Regions from separate parts of the Homo sapiens genome. Here region 2 is linked to region 1. Evidence: promoter capture Hi-C in human tissues and cell types (Jung and others, 2019). All regions are on one chromosome and are shown on one strand. Each heading gives the region's core, a stretch centred on a gene start or on the middle of the fragment in contact. The rest is flanking DNA. Distances are from core to core; before and after follow the strand shown. Region 1 holds the start of TFF3 (trefoil factor 3). Region 2 has its middle 14 kb from the start of RIPK4.

Evidence for each region. The method cuts DNA at HindIII sites, captures the fragments that hold promoters and counts their contacts. A contact is called where the count stands out against the background at its distance.
Region 2: a contact is called between a fragment that was not itself captured here and the fragment with the promoter of TFF3 in region 1, in 4 of the 25 tissues and cell types used here (heart left ventricle, small bowel, spleen and 1 more).

What each region holds. Positions count from the first base shown.
Region 1 is chr21:42,314,065-42,316,764 of GRCh38, reverse strand. TFF3 (trefoil factor 3) reads left to right here and starts at 1,356. Exons shown (of 3, transcript NM_003226.4): 1 at 1,356-1,472. The coding sequence starts at 1,391. RefSeq lists an enhancer at 1-256. The HindIII fragment of the contact is 18,141 bases long and covers 1-2,700 here.
Region 2 is chr21:41,780,013-41,782,712 of GRCh38, reverse strand. No RefSeq gene overlaps it. Among named protein-coding and RNA genes, the nearest start is that of RIPK4, 14 kb to the right of the region's middle. The HindIII fragment of the contact is 9,090 bases long and covers 1-2,700 here.

The DNA.
Region 1 (2,700 bases), core at 107-2,606:
CCCACTACCAGCCAGTCCACTGCAGGAGGTTGGGGGGTTGGGGGATGCTGCGGATGCCGAGGGCGGAGGCTTAGGGTCCTGGGAGTGGGTTAAATACCAGCTATACCAGGGACACTGGAGTAACCTCTGATAGGCACCGGAAATGTTGAGTCTTAGTTTCTTCCTCTGGAAAATGGATAGAATCATCGCTGTCTCATCTGATATGTTGTTATAAAACAATTCCTGAGATGTAGTCTTTAGTTTTTAAAAGAGCACGCTGGGCAAAGGTGGAGAGTCAGTTCCTGTTTGTGTTAAAAATGTGGCCGAGTGCAGTGGCTCATGCCTGTAATCCTGACACTTTGGGAGGCCAAGGAAGGCAGATCACTTGAGTCCAGGAGTCTGAGACCAGCCTGGCCAACATGGCGACACCTGGTCTCTAAAAAAATACAAAATATTAGCTGGACACATGCCTGTGGCCCAGCTACTTAGGAGGCTGAGGTGGGAGGATCACTTGAGCCCCGCGAGGGCGGGGGTCTCAGTGAGTTGAGATTGTGCCACTGCACTCCAGCCTGGGTAACAGAGCAAGACCCTGTCTCCAAAAAAAAAAAACAAAAAAAAAACAAAAAAAAAACAAAACAAACAAACAAACAAAAACAAACCAAAAAAACGTGCTTAGATCCAGAGAGAAAAATTCTGAAAGGATACCTAAAAAAGTGTTCACAATAGATCAATAGATGCCTCTGGATAGGAAAGGCTCTTTTGTATTATTTGATTTTAAAAATCAATTATGTGTACCATGTTTTTACTAACATATTTTCAATCAATTCATTTCATCCACTTATTAAAATGTAGTTACTAATTTTTAGGGGAGAAAGCAAAAAGGAAAGACAAGGAATCTCTGTGTTTCAGGAGTTGTGAGAGAGCCGCAGGGTCCTGACTCACTCAGAGCTGCCTGTCTCCGAGGCCGATCTGGGATGAAGCAGCCTGGGGCTCTCTTGTCATGGGACCAGGGGTGTTCTGAGGGCTTCTGGCTGGGAGGCTGAGATGGAACGGACACCACACCCTGGTCCTGCCACCCCACATGGCTCCTGCACACTACACCAGGCCAGGCTAGGAGGGCAATTGACACACATCCGCTCCCCAGTAGAGGACCCGGAACCAGAACTGGAATCCGCCCTTACCGCTTGCTGCCAAAACAGTGGGGGCTGAACTGACCTCTCCCCTTTGGGAGAGAAAAACTGTCTGGGAGCTTGACAAAGGCATGCAGGAGAGAACAGGAGCAGCCACAGCCAGGAGGGAGAGCCTTCCCCAAGCAAACAATCCAGAGCAGCTGTGCAAACAACGGTGCATAAATGAGGCCTCCTGGACCATGAAGCGAGTCCTGAGCTGCGTCCCGGAGCCCACGGTGGTCATGGCTGCCAGAGCGCTCTGCATGCTGGGGCTGGTCCTGGCCTTGCTGTCCTCCAGCTCTGCTGAGGAGTACGTGGGCCTGTGTGAGTACTGCCCTGACTGCCCCGGTGGCAGGGTGGGCGTGAAGGGAAGGGATCCAGGATAAGGGGGGATTCTGCATTCATTTAATAATGGCCACCTGTCACATATACACTTTTTCCTGCGCTAGCCCTTTGAAGTGGGTCTTTATTGTCCCCATTTCACAGACAAGGAAACCGAGGCTCAGAGAAAGTTAACAACTTATCCAAGGCAGCCCTGCCCAGTCTGTGTTGAAATCAGGGTTTGAGCCTGAGCCCATCCCCTATGACCCCATAGCCATCTTTGCTGGAGATTTCTAAATTACAATATAGGTCTTTATGCATTGTTCCACATTTACAAAGAAAAAGGAAAGATGCAGGAGAAAAACCCTGACTTCAGAACACTGTCAATACCGGCAGGCACAAGGTTCATTTAGCCATTGCATAGCAACCCTGCCATGGGGTGTGGCTGCTCCATTAACCCAAGTTTGAAGGAATGAGGGCATGGCTTTTATCTGGGTGTCTTCTGAGCAGGGTCAAAGGCAGTGGTTCCCGAACTTGCAGCCCATTAGAATCACCTGGAGAGCTTTAAAAATCCTAATGCTTGGGGCACACCAGTTACATCAGGGCATCTCCAGGCAAGATCCAGGCCTCAGCTGTTTTGTTTTGAGATAGCCTTGCTTTGTCACTCACTGCTGGAGTGCAGTGGCACAATCTCAGCTCACTGCAACCTCCGCCTCCTGGGTTCAAGCAATTCTTGTGCCTCGGCTTCAAGTAGCTGGGATTACAGGCATGCACCACCATGCCCAGCTAATTTTTTGGATTTTTAGTAGAGATGGAGTTTCGCTATGTTGGCCAAGCTGGTCTCAAACTCCTGGCCTCAAGTGATCCTCCTGCCTTGGCCTCCCAAAGTGCTGGAATTACAGGTGTAAGCCACCATGCCCAGCCAACGTCAGTCATTTTTAAAGCTCTGCAGCTGATTCCAGTGTGAGCGAAGTTTGGATGCCAGGAGGATAAGCAATTACGGACTGGGAGCAAGAGAAGGGAATGTAAGACACTGCACGTGATTGCCATTTTCCTAAGGAAATACTCAGTTCGTTAATGAAACGCAGTGAACTTCTGCTGCACATACAGACATAGAGGCTTGCCTGAAACATGAAAATATTGGGGACTGAAGGATGTCCCGGGAGGGTGGGACATGCTCAACAATTCAGGAAGGGGAGATGCAGAAAAAAGTGAAAAGCAGGCAGCATGC
Region 2 (2,700 bases), core at 48-2,547, 530 kb after region 1:
AAAGAACACATTTTACACAGTTGCGTATATAACTTGGACCTGCTACTGTTTCATAACTTTTATTTTTCCCAAATATAGTATGCATCATTATTTGCACGATCATCTCAATTCTTTTCTTGGTTCAGCAATGTGTTTTGTTTTATCATTTTAAAAATAAAAATGGTGGCCAGGCATGGTGGCTCACGCCTGTAATCCCAGCACTTTGTGAGGCCGAGGTGGGCAGATCACCAGGTCAGGAGTTCGAGACCAGCCTGGCCAACATGGTGAAACCCTGTCTCTACTAAAAATACAAAAATTAGCTGGTCGTGGTGGCAGGCGCCTGTAATCCCAGCTATGTGGGAGGCTGAGGCAGGAGAATTGCTTGAACCTGGGAGGCGGAGGTTGCAGTGAGCGGAGATCATGCCATTGCACTCCAGCCTGGGCGACAAGGGCAAGACTCCATCTCAAAAAAAAAAAAAAAAAAAAAAAAGGCATATATTTACATTGTGTAACATGATGTGTTGATAGAGATACTCACAGCAAAGTTACTACGGTCAAGCATATGAACATGTCCACCTCCCCACGGTTGCGTTTTGTGTGTTTGTGTGGTGACAGCACCTGAAATCTCTCTTGGTAAATTTCCGGGGTACAGCACAGAATTGTTAAGTACAGTCCTCAGGCTCTGCACTGGACCTCTAGACTTAGTCGTCCTATGTAACTGCAACTCTGTACCCTTTTAAAATGATATATTGTTAAAAAGTAAATATGTTTTGCTGACTTTTAAAATTGATAGTAAAAATAATTAAATCATGAAAATCTGTCCATTGCTAGTGGATAGAGGTAACTAATAAACTTGGAGGGTGGGAGAAAACAGGGAGGAAATAGGCATTTTTAAAAACTGTAAGTAAACTTTCAATAATATATTTCCCCTTTCATTCTCACAATGGCTGTCTCCCTAAAGGTTCACCCCAAGAAACACAGTGCAGCTCGCTTTGGTAGAAATGACAGTTTCCCATTTATGTAAAATTAGTTGGCATAAAGTGTAGAGGAGGAAGAGAGAGCATTGCTGTTTGGAGGAACAAGTTCCCCAAATATGTATTTACATTATGATAATGAGCCTAATTAATAGAATGCTTGCATTATCCATTTTTATTGATTTTAATTATTATTTCGTGCTGATATTTTCCTTGTCTTTTATGATTTTTTATTTTTTTGAGACAAGGTTTCACTTTGTTGCCCAGGCTGGAGTGCAGTGTTGTGATCATGGCTGACTGCAGCCTCAAACTCCTGGGCTCGAGCAATCCTCCCACCTCAGCCTCCAAAATATCCAGGATCACAAGTGCATGCCACCATGTTCGCTAATTTTGTTTATTTTGGGGGGAGACGGGGTCTCACTCTGTTGCCCAGGTTAGTCTTGAACTCCTGGGCTTGAGTGATCCTCCCACTTTCCAGAGTGCTGGGATTACAGGCATGAGGCACTGTGTCTGGCCAATATTTTTCTTTTAAATTACAGCTTCTTAACTTTTATTTTCTCATGCCAAAAATCTCAGTTCTTTACCATAGAGCTAATGATAGAGTTTCTATATCACATTTCCTTTATGCTTCAACACACACAGGGCAGTCTCAGGATAACATCAACACTCAGCCAATAGTGTGATTGTGGGAAAGGGGTTAAGATGCCTCCCTCCCTCCTTCCCTCCCTCCCTCCCTCCCTCCCTTCCTTCCTTCCTTCCTTCCTTCCTTCCTTTCCTCCCTCTCCTCCCTCCCCTCCTTCCTTCCTTTCTTTCTTTCCTCCTCTCCTCTCTCTTTCTTTCTCCCTCCCTCTCTTGCTTTCTTTCTCTTTCTCTCTCTTTCTCTCTCTCCCTCCCTCCCTCCTTTCTTTCTTTCTTCCTTTCCTTCCTTTCTTCCTTTCCTTTCTTTCTCTGTTCTTTTTGCCCTTAGTGCATTTTCCACTAGTAGTTACTTTTAAATTCCTACGTTTTAAAGTCAATTGGAATAGCTCCCCTCTGGTTAGTCAGGCTACCAAATGGATACACATTTGGTTCATTTGTCTTATTTTATTTTTGGTATTTAGACATTGCTTTTTAAAGTTAATTGTGTTTTATAAGGATGTAAAATATTTGCATGGTTTCATAGTCAAATCTAGAAAACAGGGCATGTGCAACAAGGACTTGTGTCTTCCCCCAGAGACTTCCAGCCCCCTCCCTGTGGACTGTGCTCACACTGTTTATTTTTAGAATGGAAGCAGATAGGGAGAGATAGATTGATTGATGGTAGATAGATGATAGAGAACAGGTAGGCAAGTAGTTAGGTAGTACATAGATGATGAATGGTAGAAACATAGATAGATAATAGATGGATGGGAATAAAGATAGTAAATAGATAGACAGAGGGATGGGTCCCTATTTCCTGCCTGTACTGGAAAAATGGAAGATTTCCTCCACCTTGCTCTGTTCAGAGTGGTCTGTGCAATCACTCCAGAGGCACGTGTAGACACAGTCCTCCTCCCATTTTCACAATTGCACGGCAGTCTTTCCTATGGATGAGTGATAATAATTCAACCATCGCCCATCCATGGGGATTTGGGGTGCTTCACATCTTTTGCTTTTACAGACTATATAATACATTAAGAGAAGTGGGTCTCATTATGTAAATGCCTGCGCCTTGCTTTTTTTATTGAATATAATTTGATTTTATTATATTTGTTTTCACTTTTTAAAT